Linked DNA regions of Homo sapiens: regions 1, 2, 3 and 5 are each linked to region 4. The links are contacts of gene promoters, found by promoter capture Hi-C in human tissues and cell types (Jung and others, 2019). All regions are on one chromosome and are shown on one strand. Each heading gives the region's core, a stretch centred on a gene start or on the middle of the fragment in contact. The rest is flanking DNA. Distances are from core to core; before and after follow the strand shown. Region 1 overlaps ZBED5 (zinc finger BED-type containing 5). Region 2 has its middle 10 kb from the start of LINC02752. Region 3 has its middle 34 kb from the start of LINC02752. Region 4 holds the start of GALNT18 (polypeptide N-acetylgalactosaminyltransferase 18). Region 5 has its middle 13 kb from the start of SNORD97.

Region 1 (2,700 bases), core at 106-2,605, 770 kb before region 4:
AAACAGTGTGATATGTTTAGGGAATGGCAAGAAGTTCCATGGGATTGGAGAGCTGCAGAGTAGACACGGAAAGATTGGTAGGGATTAGATCCTGAAGAGATATGTTAAGGGACTGGGACTTTATCTTGGGGATCATTATTTCCCAGTTATGATCATGGAACTCTTTAAAATTACAATGTAAAGAAATACCAATAATAACACAATATGTTTAAAACGTTTGATTCTTTAGCCTTCTTAAAATCTAAATAGTATAAAAAAATGGAATCATTTTATTTAAATCCCCCAAATACCAGAGATGAAGTAAATCATCTTTTATTTTCATCTTACATTTGGTTATCATGAGACATGCAAACTCCTCCAATTTTAATGAGAACAGTGTTTTTGTGTCTTTTTATCACATATCCGCTTAATATTAGGTGTAATATTGCTAAGTCGGATTCGCATATGAGGTGCAGCATCAAGTCTTTTCCTATATTTTGTTTTTGTTGCAGCGTAATATGAAAACCCCGTTTCACACAGGTGCATTGTAGCAAAAGGAAGAAGTACACGCACTGCACGCCTTGCAATGCTTGGGTATTCCTGAATTAGGCTACTCCAAAAATCATTTAGTGAAAGTTCACTAAAATTTTGCTTCACTTGAGAATCAGATGTTAAATCAATCAGGCTCTCATAGTCCCGTGCTACTAATGAAGCTGGTTTAACAGTAACTGTAAATGGATTTCTAACCCAAGCATTATTGTCATTTGTTACAGGAAAGTATTTTAACAGAGTAGCGCGCAAACCCCTTAGGTGCTGCACAATGGCACTGCAAATATCTTTATCAACTGTAGAATTAATTTCAGTCAAAAAATCACTGAGTGTAGGAAAACAATCAAAGTTTTCTTCTTCTACAGATGAGGCCCAAAATTCCAATTTTCTTAACAATGACGACATTTTATCAAATACTGTAAAAACGGTCACATTTTTTCCTTGCATTGACAAATTAACTTCATTTAATTTAGTAAAAATATCTGCAAGATATGCAAGTCTTAGCAGCCAAGATGAATTTGTTAAACAATCAGATAGTCGAAAAGCAGAATCCATGAAAACCAAAAGTTCACGACGAAGTTCAAAAAGTCTTACAAGAACTTTACCTCGAGAAAGCCACCTCACCTCTGTATTTAGAAGAAGTGCTGTGTGCTGAGCACCCATTTCCTCACATAAAATTTTTAATAGTCTGGATTGATGTGGTCGAGCTTTAATATAATTGATGATTTGTACTGCCTGGTCTAGCACATTTTTTAGAGATGTAGGCATTATTTTAACTGCCAGTGCATGTCTGTATAATAGGCAGTGACTACTGGTGCTTTCGGGAGCCACATATTTTATTAAGGTGACAGCTTCGGCAATTTTCCCATCCACTGCCCTAGAAGCATCACTACAAACATCAACACATTTTTCCCATTCAATTTCATGTTTCTGCATAAAACTGTTGATACAGTTGAATATTTCTTCACCGGTAGCATTACTTTGCAAAGATTCACACAGGAGTAGGTCTTCCTCAATAGACTTATTAAACCTATAACGAACAAACACAAGCAGCACAGCAAGTCCTGAAACATCAGCTGATTCATCTAGTTGCAGTGAAAACCCATCGCAAATTTTCAGTCTACAAACAAGCTCTTCTTCAATGTCAGCAGCTAGATCCTTAATTCGACGTGCAACAGTACTGTTTGATAGCTGTACTGCATCTATTTTTTTACTATATTGTTCATCAAACATCCGCATCACTACATCTTTTGCACAAGGTTTGATAAGCAATTCTCCAATAGTATGAGCCTCTCCACTCAGCGCTATATGGTAACTTACATTGTATGATGCTTCTGTAGCACTTTCATTATCTGTATTCACAATTTTAGGTGTTGGGGGTTTATTATTTTCAGGTGAATCGAGATGTTGCTTGAAAAAGCTTATGTCTTTGTCTTTATATGCAGCATGTTTAGTTTCCAAATGTCTTCGAAGCTTACTAGGGGCTAAAGAGCTATTTGATAAAATTTTCTTACATAATACACACTGAGCATGAGGTGCATCTCTATTTCCGAAGTAAGTAAATCCAAAAGACAAATAACTTTCATCATATTTTCTTCTTTTTGGTTTTTTACTAAATGTTATTTTGTTGGAATTGGATATAAATTTGACCCTGGAAAGCTCACCTTCTGATTTTTTAGAAACTGAAGGTTGCAACTGCTTATCTTCACTTTGTAATATTCCAACCTTCTGATCATTTGATTCAGACACAATCTGATAACAGAAAGATTCCACTTCTTGTTTAAGACTTCCTTGTTTCAGCAACAGATCCATGGGCAATGAGTTTGTGGTACAAAACATGGTTAATTTAGAATAGACATTGAGTATCGCAAATGTGTTGAAATTATAAGACAGGATACAAAGAAGAGGAGCAATCATCAAAGAGATGATATACAGCAACACATCAGTTAATTTGTAAATGCTGCCTATTCATCAATGCGCAGATGGAACATCATACGTTCATGTATCAGGTGATCTCTCATGCGACTTCCTGGTGCTCTCAGGTATGGTACACCTTTTCTTAAAGGTAGATTATCACATAAAAATAAAAGCTATAGAAATGAGTTTAGCAGTCTTAATCTCATATTTAAATAAACATATTAAAATCAACCATAAAGAAAAACCAATATTAGC
Region 2 (2,999 bases), core at 210-2,709, 520 kb before region 4:
TATTTTATAAGCAGGCCAATTTCATTTAGATAGGTAGCTTCTAATTTAGTCTGTTTTCCAGGTGGAACACTGAGCTCAGGATGGAGCCCATTAACAAATACTGCCAACACAGCATTTGCAGTTTCCAGGGTCCAATGCTTATATATGTGAAAAGCAGACAAATCTCCATGAAAGGCAGCTTTTTAGCTATTCTGTGTTTCCAGCATTTCTGAATAACGCATCTTGAAATATGTCAAAGAAGTATATTTTGGGGTAAAGTATTTTAGCTTCCTTCAATAGTCTAAGTGTCCATCAATACCCCTTCTCTGTGATGTTTTCCTGGATCGTCCCAGGTACTTCCAATACCTTAGAAGATCTAAGATACTCCTCCACTCCTGGCAGATTTGTGCCTCAGAGTCCCTGAAACAGTGGAGCAGTTGTAGCTCATTGCTGTAAATGGAATGTGCATCCCCTTCAAATTCACATTGAAGCCCTAAGCCACCCTGTGACTGTATTGGAGACAGCACCTTGAAGGAGGTGATTAAAGTTAAATGAGGTTGTAAGGTGGGGCCTTGATGTAACAGAACTGATGTCTTTATGGAAGAGGAAGAGACACCAGAGATCTATCTGTTTTTGCCACATGAGGACACAGCAAGAAGATGGTCATCAGCGACCTAGGTAGAGAGCTCTCATCAGAAACTAAATCCCACTGAAACTTTGATCTTGGACAGACTTTCCAGCCTCCAGAACTGTGAGGAAATAAATTTCTGTTGTTTGAGCCACTCAGTCTATGATATTTTATTATGGCAGCCGAGGTGAGTAGATACTCTTGCTCACTGTGGAAGCTAACATGCATGGCCCTGTGGTCTGCACTGGGAGTATACAAAGAGGAAAGGCACGGCCCCTGACTGAAGAGACCTCATTGCCTTTACCAAGAGCAGCAGGTAGAAACAGACATACCAGCAGAGATTTACTTTTTATAAGTTACTTTTTATAAGTCTCTGAACCTCAGTTTCCCCACTGTAAAAGAGGGATAATAATAACTTTTCTTCAGAGGGTTATTATGAGGATTAAATGAGGTTAAGCAGGTTAGGTACTTAGCATAGACACATGGAAAGCACTGAGAGTTATTTCAGATATTACTGGTAATAGTATATGGAAAGGGTACCAAGGCATATTGCTAGAAGGATGATAAAAAAAAAATCTGAGGAGATTAAAGTAGAATTGAGTTTTACAGGAAAAGTAGCAATTAACCAGAAGACATTCCTGGTAGAAGAAACAGAATTTGCAATTATTGGGGATAGGAAATAACATGCCACACTTGAGGGACTTCCAATAAATTGGTAGGACCTGATAAGCTCCAAATGAGTGCAAGGGCTGCAGGAGGAGGGCTTAGGGAGGAACAGTGGGTGAAGGGCAAGAAAAGCAGTCAGGAACCAGGGAGACAGAGTTTGAACCTTATTCTGGAGATTTGTAGGGAGCCATTGAAGGATATTGAACGTGGAGCTTCAAGTCATTGGATTTAGATGGGAGGAGGGTCACCTCTTTCATTGAGGAGAGAAGGAAGAAGAAGAGATAAATGCAGATGCAGGTAAGTTTGAAGATGACAAGAAATGAATGTGGTCTGGATGGCTTGGAATTCTCTGTGGGATAAGAGGAGAGGTCCTCTGATGAGACTGAGGTAGGAAGCAGGACTTGACTCCAGAGGTGGGGCTCATACACTGGGCCAGATTGAAGACTAGCTAAAACAGGGCCAGGATGGAAGCAGCTTTCAATCAGACATGCCAACCAGTATGCCACATCTATTTACTGTTGCCATGGCAACACCGGGGAGTTACCACCCCTTTCCATGGCAATGTCCCAGTTACCCAAAAGTTAATACTCTTTCCCTAAAAATTTTTGCATAAACTGCCTCTGAATCTGTATGCAATTAAAAGTGGGTATAAATGTGACTGCAGAACTGTACTGAGCTGCTACTCTCTGTCTATGGGGTAGCTCTGCTCTGCAGGAGCACAGAGCTGTAACACCATTGGAGCTGTAACACTGTCTGTTCAATAGAGCTATTTTCTTCTGCCTCTAGCTTGCCCTTGAATTATTTCCTGGGAAAAGCCAAGAACACTCAGAGGCTAAGCTCCACTTTGGGGCTTGCCTTCCTTGCATCAAGAAGAGGGCATGAAATGAGGCATGGCAGTATACTGGCTTGAATTGAAACAGCCTTTGCAAAAATTATTATGACAGTGAAAGAGATCTGACCTTACTGACTCCATCTTGCCTTTAACTTCCAAGCTGCCCTTGGTCATTTCTGGGTGTAGGCCGAAGTAACTTTGGGAGGAATTTAGTTTACAGGTTAACTTTGAAACAAAGATGTTAACAGTCTCTCCTTGAAATAAACTCCTTCTTACCTGGAGGGAGGAAGACTGCTTTTGTAAAACTAACAAATTAGCCACAATATTAGAAATTATGGATTAGCAGCCATGCAACCAGAGGCTACAAGATTCTTAATCTTCCCAATTGCTCATCTGGGTAATATTACTTTTGTAAAACCTAAGATTGGTGTTTGAGATATTTTTCGGACCCTGCATTCTGGTGGGTCAGCTGGCACCACCCAGACTGGTAAGCAGGCTTGTCTGTTCTTACAGCTTCCACCCAGGAACCAATTGAGCTCATCCCTGCCAATCAGCATTCCCCACCCTGCCTTCTTAAAAAAATCCATCTTAAAAAAAAATAGCCCCCTGTTTCCTAGCCCCCTGCCTTCTTAAAAAAAAAAACACACACAAAAAACTATCTTAAAAAAATCCTAGCCTCTGAATTTTCAGATAGGCTGATTTGAGTAATAATAAAGTTCCAGTCTCCTGTTTAGCTGGCTCTACATGTATTAAACTCTTTCTCTATGGCAACTGCCCTTTCTTCACTAATCAGCTCTATCTGGGCAGTGGGCAAAAAGAGCCCATTAGTTACAGAATGGGGGAGAAAGCTGCTGGGGACGTGTAGAAGATTTCTTAGCAGCACTAAAGCTTTAG
Region 3 (2,700 bases), core at 163-2,662, 540 kb before region 4:
GGTTGAGTATGGTCTAATTCATGCTAAGCTGTTAATAGCTGACACCTTGGAGCTGGACATCCCTTTACCCTAAGGAAGAGAGAAGCAATGGTGAGATTTTTAGGTACAAAAAAGAGTGTCTCTAAAATTTCAGCACAGGGAAAGGGAGAGCCCAGAGAGGTTGTCTAATCTAATGGTTGTTGAACTTCCCAGAATGTTGCTGCTTTAGCACACTTGTTGATGCACCAGCACACTTGGCCATAAGGACACTTTTTTATCTTCTCCTTTTTAGCACATGGGCGGACACATCCTCTTTTTCTTCGAACAAAGCCGTAAATGACCTGAAGTAGTATTTCTGAAAGCATGCTCCTCTGTTTACCTGAGGTGCTTGTTAAAAGTTCAGATCGTCAAGCTTCATTCTTAACCCCCTGAACCTGTCTCTTTCTGCTGGTGGGATTTGGGGATCTGCTCTATAAACAGTCTCCCCAGTGATCCATTTATACCTGAGTGACTCAGAACCACTGGGCTGGAGCCAGAAAGGGGAGAGTTTTACTGAGGTTCCAGAGTAAATCAAGAAAATCAGTAAATGTAAAATGGGTAAAATTACAAAGTTCGGGCTCTGGATGCAGCAAGATCCTGAACAGAGACACCTAAATGTCCAGCTGAGGTCTGGCTGCCTTGGAAGACCTTCCAGGACTGATGGAACCTTACATTCTCTCAAATTCTTCAGCTTTCTTTCATCTCAGGCCTTGATTTCAGGCATTCCTGTGACTCTGGTTGGACCTGACCCTTGGGTCCTGTCCAGGTTGGATACCCTTGCTGGAAGCAGGAACTTCCCTGCCTGGCCATCAGAGAAACAGCCTAACTCGTTGTCTCAAAAGGCTGCTCCAGGACCTCCACCCTTATTCCTCTTTCCATCTTGTAAGCACTCTCCACCTCTTTCCTTTCCCTTCATTTTCCATCTAGGTCACACATATGTCAGCGTGTGTACGCACACATACACACACGCACATGCACACATGCTGACCCCATCTTACGTGGAATCAAAGCCTGAATAATTCAATGAAACAAATGCCTGGCACACAGTAGGTGCCTAGTAAATGCTAATTCTCTTTCCCTGACTCCTTTCTATTGTCCTCTTGCTCCATTTAAATGCAAAACTGTCTGGAGAAAATGGGAGGGAGTGAGAGAAGGTATACATTATGACTAAATTCCAAAATCTGATCAGTGTGTGGGGCTGGCTGCTGGGTTTTCATGCCTGCATACCAATGAAGCTGTGTCTGGAGCAGAATAGTTTGTGCCCATAAACCGTGACCTTCATTATCCATGGAGACGGGCAGCAGCGGCAGTCTCTGTAGAAATCTTTCCTATCCTGATTGTGGGGATGGCAGAAGCAACAAGACTATGCCATTTGTTTCAGCAGAGCTAACAAATTCTTTCTATAGCGCTGTGCAAAGTACTCTCTTCCCCTGTTCTTTCTGGCTGGGATGGGCTTTTTTTTTCCAATTAAAAATTAAAATAGAGGCTGAATTATATTCGTTTCTTGGGTCTGCAATTCATGCTCCATTTCTCATAAGCAGTCTGCATTATCGTGAAGCTCATCTACTTATACTGGTTCTTGGAAAGAGCCACTTAAATCTCTGCTTGGTTAAAAATAGTTCCCTCGTGCCAGAGTGCCAGAGAATCAAGTAACAGAGTGAGATGAGGCCATGCAGCCCCATCCCCTTCCTGGGAGAGACTGCCCCCCAATGCCACCAACTTGCCTCTTCCTGGGCAGCTTCAGGTCAGGAGCCACAGGTCGACTTGCCTCTTCCTGGGCAGCTTCAGAGTCAGGAGCCACAGGGAGGCAGCTTTCACTCTTAGAAAGTGCTTCTTCCTGAGTAGCCACAGTTTGCATTCCTGCTTCTTAGCTCTGCCCTTTGGGCCACACAAATCAAATCTTTTACAAGACAGTTCTTAGGATACATGAAGACGGTTCTCTTGCCCTCTTGTATGGGTTGAATTGCGTTATCCAAAAAGGTATGTCGAAGTCCTAACCCCCAGTACCTCAGAATATGACTTCACTTGGAAATAGGGTCTCTGCAGATACACTTAGTTAAAATGAAGCCACACTGGCATAGGGTGGGCCTTTAATCAAGTATCACTGGTATCCTTATCAGAAGATACACAACGGGACAACACCGTGTGAAGATGGAGGCAGAGACTGGAGTGATGCTGCCAGAAGCTATGGAATGCTGGGGGCTACCAGAAGCAGGAAAGGACAAGGAGGGATCATGGCCCTGTGAACATCCTGATTTTGGATTTCTGACCTCCAGAGGGGGGAGAGCATACATTTCAGTTGTTTTAAGACATCTAGTCTGAGCAAACTAATACATTCCCTGGGGCTTCCCTGGGCTGAACACCTCCAGTTTTTTCAACTCTTTCTCATATAATATGGCCTCTATCCTTTTCTTTCCTTGATTTCCCTTCTTTGAGCATATTTCAAGTACCAAGCAAATCACTCTAGAAGGGGTCTGAGCTTCATGCCTTGTACTGGGCTATCACTTCTCTCATTTCTGGATTCCTTACCTCAGAGCACAGCCACTTTCTTGACAACTTCTTCATACCTCAAATTCCTTCTGAGTTTATGGTCAGCTAAGACCCATGATTCTTTTCCAAGAGTACTGCTGCTAAATCACATCTCTCAATTGGTATGACAGCTCTGTTATAATCTCTCATCAT
Region 4 (2,700 bases), core at 78-2,577:
CGCTACTTCCCGGCGTTGACACCTGCTCCTGGAGAGGGTCCTGGACCCGCGGGCTGTGGTGGGGGTAGGGACTGCTATAGGTTCAAGCGGCTTTTCAACCACAGAGGGCTCCTTGCATTCCCTATCGCCTACCAACGGGATCACAGCAAGACTGGGGCTGGGGCTGATACAACGCAATTTTCCTAGCCTCGCTTGTCCGGCAGCCTGCGGGTCTTAACTGCCAATAGTCAGGGCCGCCGCGCGGGCATCTCGCCTGACGCCTACAGTGGCCAAAAAAGCTCGTTTGCCCGCGCGTTCCCTCTTGTACACACACAGACATTCACATGCACACACACTCTGAGCCGGACTTGTGTGCGATCCCGAGAGCCCGCGAGCAACCAGCCCAGAGTCACACGCACATTTGGACACGTGCGCAGCGCGCCCCCATACCGCCAGCTAGCTGCACACATCCGCTCGTGCAGCCCTGCGCACACACGTGTGCCCCGGGGAAGAGCGCACGGCCGCAGACAGAAGGTCCCGAACGCAGGCAGGAGCTCACACGCAGGCCCCACGACTACCACGCATCTGCGGCCCCAGAGCCCCGCCGTGGCTGAGTTGATGCGCACCAGCCCCAGCGCACCCCGCGCCGCGCGGGGCACTCCCGGGCCTCATGGGCGACCCAAGTTTCCGGGGCGCCCGTACCTTGAATGTGCTGCTTGATGACATTCTCCAGGTGGTCCAGCCGCTCAATAATCTTCAGAGTGTCCCCTTTGTCTTCCTCCAGCTTCTTGTCGGGCGCCGGCTCCTGCCCCCGCACATACACGCTGGCGATGTAGTTGGTGACCCAGCCCACGTAGAGCAGGCAGATGATGTTAGTCATGCCGCTCAGGATCACGCAAGTGGACACCAAAGTTTTGGTCTTCCTGGTGCACACCATTCTGGGCTCCTTCCTCCATATAGAGCTCCCGGGGGCCCTTCCTTGTCGTGCGCCCCGAACTCCCCCGCGCTCGCACCCCGTAGCACGTCCGGAGCCGCTGGGCACCTCAGCACCTGAGTCCCGAGGTTCTCCAAAGCCCGGTCCGCTGCCGGTGTAGCCGCCGTGCCCAAGTTTGCAGCTCCTGCCGCTGGCCACCCGGAGAGACCTTGACAAAGGAAACCAGGTGGATTTTTTTCCAAATTAAAAATCCCTGAACCCTTCCTAGAGGGGTCACGGGTAGCCGGCAGCCGCGCGTCCAGATGTGTACGTCTGGGAAACTTTGCCACTGCCTGTGTCGGCGGCCACGCCGCTTCCCATCGCCAGCGCCGGCTGCCTTGGCGGTCCGACCGGCCCGCGCTGCTAGGAGAACAGCGGCAGCGGCAGCGGCGGCGGGGAGAGCCGCGAAGCAGAGCGGCCCGGCCCCCTCCGAGCGACAAGCGCTGCCACCAATCGCGCTCCGGCTCGGGAGAGGGGCCGGTGCTGAGCGGCAGCGGACCAACGGGGAGGGAGCGGGGGGCGGAGTCCAGCTCCCAGGCCCCACCTGCTGGCCGCCCCTGGCTCCCGCCCCCAGGGACGCGCCCGGGCCTCCACCCGCGCCTGCACAGGCTGCCCCAGACCTGAAGCTCCCGGAGAGGGCGCGCTGCCAGTCCCAGCCCTTAGGTCGGCAGCTTCCTCCGTTAGGGGAATTCCATCTCTTGCTCTTGGGCAGGAATCTCCTGGTTTTGTGGAGGGGGTGGGGGGTTCGCACGGGTCAGCTTCTTTCATCCGCCCGGGGCTTCTCGCATTGGTGCCACCAGTCGACTCCTGGAATCTTTTCTTGGTTGCCAGGACGCTGAGAAGCCAAGGAAGTGCCAGCCCCAGCGGCATCCACTCCTTCCTTGGCCTCACTTGGGCCTCCACCCTGCCCTCTGCCCTTCAGCCACCGGCCTCCTGAGTGTGTCCAGACCTGGCCCTAAACCTGGCTGAAAGGAGCCAACCCTCCGGCAACCTCCCAGAAGCAACATTGGTGACCTATTAGATGACTCTCTCGACCACTTCTTCCCCCCCCCCACCCCCCACCCCCCACCCCCACCGCCTGCCCCAATTTTTGCCCCTATCTAGGTTTTTCTTTAAGTCTGTACAGCTCCCAGGACATGGATGTGTCCTTTAAGCCCAGTTTTCATTTATGTGGAACCAGGGTCATCCAGTGCATAAAGAAACCCTGCAAGGAAGTGCCGCTGAGGGGAACTGAGGTCTGTGAACTGTAAAGCCCTTCTACATGTTGTTTATGATTGCTATCATAGAGGGCGGTGGGAGAGACCTGTGACTGAGCACAGGAGGAGGCCAGACGCAGACAGTGATACTGCTGTGTTTGTTCTTACTGCCAATGTTTACTCATATTATCCTCTTCTGCTGAACACCCCGTTCTCAGCACCTGAACGGAATTCCTTTAAACAAAGACTTTTTACAACATAGATTTCCTGCCTCTTCTCCATCTCTGAGTTGCTTTATTTTTTTGGCCTAAGCCAGGGAGGCAGCCTGCTGCATGCCCACTTTGTTGTGTGCCAGCCTTCCAACCAGCCACAGAAATACTCAGGGCAGCTCCATCCTGGGATATCTTCTGGATTCAAATGACTGGCCCCACAAGAGAGGGAGAGCACAAAACCAAAGAAAGGGCACTTTATGGCCCCATCAGCCAAGGGCCCTTCTACCAATGCTTTGTTTACAAAACCTCCCCAAAGATGCTATGAAAACAGATACCAACT
Region 5 (2,859 bases), core at 124-2,623, 830 kb before region 4:
AGGAATACAGCATTGTGCCTGGCTAATTTTTAAAATTTTTGGAGAGACAGGGTCTCACCGTGTTGCCCAGGCTGGTCTCAAACCCCTGGCTTCAAGTGATCTCCTGCCTCAGCCTCCCAAAGCAGTGAGATTTCAGGCTTGAGCCACTGTGCCCAGGCTAATGTACCACTTTTTAAAGCAATCTTTAAAATGCTTGTTTATAACTTTTGCAAACTCTTGAGATTTTACAACCGTGTCCCCAGGAATAACAATTAAGTCTGTATTCAATTTCTTTGACACCAAGCCTCTCGAAGGCCTCCATAAACATCAAAAACTAGCTATTGATTGGGATCACTTCAGGTTAATGTGTCATCCCCAAACTGTAGATTATTGTCCAAACAAATGTAATTGACAGGGCCTCATGTAATTGGAAATTGTCAGGCAATTATCGTGTGTCAATTAAAAGTAATAAAAGTAAAAAACATAAACAAAACTAACAACACATGTATAAGATATGTATTCTAAAAATTACACAATGATGAAAACAATATCAAAGAAGACTCAGGCTGGGCACAGTGGCTCACACCTGTAATCCCAGCATTTTGGGAGGTCGAGGTGGGAGGATCGCTTGAGCTCAGGAGTTCAAGACCAGCCTGGGTAACATGGCGAAATCCCATCTCTACAAAGAATACAAAAAGTTAGCCAGATGTGGTGGCGTGTGCCTGTAGTCCCAGCTACTTGGGGGCTGAGGCAGGAGGATCACTTGAGCCTGGGAAGCAGAGGTTGCGGTGAGCTGAGATGGCACCACTGCACTACAGCCTGGGTGACAAAGTGAGACCCTGTCTCAAAAAAAAAAAAAAAAAAGAAAGTCTTAAATTAAGAGATATATCATGTTCATGGACTGGAAGACTCAACATAGTGAAGATGTTTCTCTACAAAAAAAAAAAAGAAGAAGAAAAAATTGTTAGAGCGAAAATGTCAGGCTTTTTTTCAAGAGGATAAAAACTGCAGGTATTGGCTAGGCACAGTGAAACACGCCTCTAATCCCAGCACTTTGGGAATCTGAGGGAGGTGGATCACTTGAGCCCAGGAGTTCCAGACCACCCTAGGCAACATGGTGAAACCCTGTCTCTACAAAAAATTAGCCGGGCATGGTGGCCCACCTGTAGTCCCAGCAACTTGAGAGGCTGAGGTAGGAGAATCATTTGACCCCAAGAGGTTGAGGCTTCAGTAAGCTGAGATTGTGCCACTGCTCTCCAGCCTGAGCGACAGAATGAGACCCTGTCTTCAAACAAAACAAAAGCAAAACAAAACAAAACCTGCAGGTATTTATAGTTTGCCACATTTTGTTTTATTTTCCCCATCTTTGGAAATCAGCTCCAATTTTGACTGCCGTGTAATAGAAAACATGCGGACTTTAGAGTTATTCGAACTCTAAATCCTAGCTCTTCCTCTGACAAATGATGTGACTTTGAACAATGGCTCCATCCCCCTCAGCTTCAATTTCCTACTGTTTAAATTGGGATAACAATGTCTACATCCCAGGACTATTCTGAGAATAATATAGTCAGAGTTCAAAAAGGTTAGTCTTTTTTTCCCACTGATTTTTTAAAGAGCTTTTTGTGGTTAACCCTTGATTGTGCACATGCAAATATTTTAATTTATCCTTTATAACATTTTGGGACAGATTAATAGGCAAATCTGTCAACATTTCCCTTCATCGTTTCTGGATATGTATATTTTTTTCACAAAGAGATAGATGTTCCATGAAGTTAAAGCTTAGGCATCAGGGTCCCTCACTTGCCTGGGCCTCTTCCAAGGCTGCACCTAATTTTTCATTTGTGATTTTGTTTTCTTTTTCCTAAAGAGACCTCCACCACCCCTGCCAAATTATGTAAACTTCAGGCCCTACAGAATCTGGAACTTTCCCGAGTAACGTGCTTAGAAAAGTCACGTCACCCTAGGCCGGGCACGGTGACTCACGCCTGTAATCCCAGCACTTTGGGAGGCTGAGGCGGGCAGATCACCTGAGGTCAGGAGTTCAAGACCAGCCTGACCAACATGGCAAAACCCTGTCTCTACTAAAAAATACAAAAATTGGCCGGGCGTTGTGGCAGGCGCCTGTAATCCCAGCTACTCGGGAGGCTGAGGCAGGGAGAATTGCTTGAACCCGGGAGGTGGAGGTTGCAGTGAGCCGAGATCATGCCATTGCACTCCAGCCTAGAAGAAAGAGGGAGACTCTAAAAAAAAAAAAAAAAAAAAAAAAAAAAAAAAGAAGCAAAGCAAAGAAAAGAAAAGTCACCTCACCCCAAATTATGAAAAATTTTAATAGGCTTAGCTTTATATCTTTTCTTTTGGCTTATTTTCTAATTTTTTAGTACTAAAGTAGATTACTAATTTTCTTCAAAGAATTTTTCTCAGAACAAAATAGAGCTCCACTGCTCATTCATTCACTCATTTTATTTACTGGTTCGTCCAAGCTCTTCCCTCACCTTTCTGTACCTAGCTGAGTTGTGAAGCAGCTGGTGGGTTCAGGGGAGGAGAGAGGAAGGGACAGAGCTAGAGGGCACGGTGGCCCTGGATGGAAGTGATGGTACTGGGGTTGGGGGCAATGTATTAGTTTCTAGGACTACCGTAATGAAGTAGCACAAACAGGGTGTCTTGAACAACAAAAACATATTCTCTCATTGTTCTGGAGACTAGAAGTCCAAAATCAAGGTGTCAGCAGGGCATGGGAAGGCTCTAGAGATAATCTGTCCATGTCTCTCTCCTAGCTGCTAGCATTGCTGGCAAACCTTCGCAGTCCTTGGCTTGTAGAGACGTCACTCCAATCTCTGCCCCTGTCATCAAATGGCACTCACCCTGCATGTCTGTGTGCCA

The links. The method cuts DNA at HindIII sites, captures the fragments that hold promoters and counts their contacts. A contact is called where the count stands out against the background at its distance.
Region 1: a fragment that was not itself captured here is called in contact with the fragment with the promoter of GALNT18 in region 4 in 1 of the 25 tissues and cell types used here (aorta).
Region 2: a contact is called between a fragment that was not itself captured here and the fragment with the promoter of GALNT18 in region 4, in 2 of the 25 tissues and cell types used here (dorsolateral prefrontal cortex and mesenchymal stem cells).
Region 3: a fragment that was not itself captured here is called in contact with the fragment with the promoter of GALNT18 in region 4 in 1 of the 25 tissues and cell types used here (IMR-90 fibroblasts).
Region 5: a fragment that was not itself captured here is called in contact with the fragment with the promoter of GALNT18 in region 4 in 1 of the 25 tissues and cell types used here (aorta).

What each region holds. Positions count from the first base shown.
Region 1 is chr11:10,852,501-10,855,200 of GRCh38, forward strand. ZBED5 (zinc finger BED-type containing 5) reads right to left here. Exons shown (of 3, transcript NM_001143667.2): 3 at 206-2,586. The coding sequence starts at 2,445. The coding sequence ends at 364. Among named protein-coding and RNA genes, the nearest start is that of ZBED5, 4.2 kb to the right of the region's middle. The HindIII fragment of the contact is 3,978 bases long and covers 1-2,700 here.
Region 2 is chr11:11,103,761-11,106,759 of GRCh38, forward strand. No RefSeq gene overlaps it. Among named protein-coding and RNA genes, the nearest start is that of LINC02752, 10 kb to the right of the region's middle. The HindIII fragment of the contact is 4,068 bases long and covers 1-2,999 here.
Region 3 is chr11:11,080,277-11,082,976 of GRCh38, forward strand. No RefSeq gene overlaps it. Among named protein-coding and RNA genes, the nearest start is that of LINC02752, 34 kb to the right of the region's middle. The HindIII fragment of the contact is 8,828 bases long and covers 1-2,700 here.
Region 4 is chr11:11,620,678-11,623,377 of GRCh38, forward strand. It overlaps GALNT18 (polypeptide N-acetylgalactosaminyltransferase 18), which reads right to left and starts at 1,328. Exons shown (of 11, transcript NM_198516.3): 1 at 682-1,328. The coding sequence starts at 916. RefSeq lists enhancers at 1-178, 1-70, 811-860, 1,071-1,150, 1,268-1,768 and silencers at 351-420, 441-520, 1,271-1,630. The HindIII fragment of the contact is 13,654 bases long and covers 1-2,700 here.
Region 5 is chr11:10,787,669-10,790,527 of GRCh38, forward strand. No RefSeq gene overlaps it. Among named protein-coding and RNA genes, the nearest start is that of SNORD97, 13 kb to the right of the region's middle. The HindIII fragment of the contact is 7,576 bases long and covers 1-2,859 here.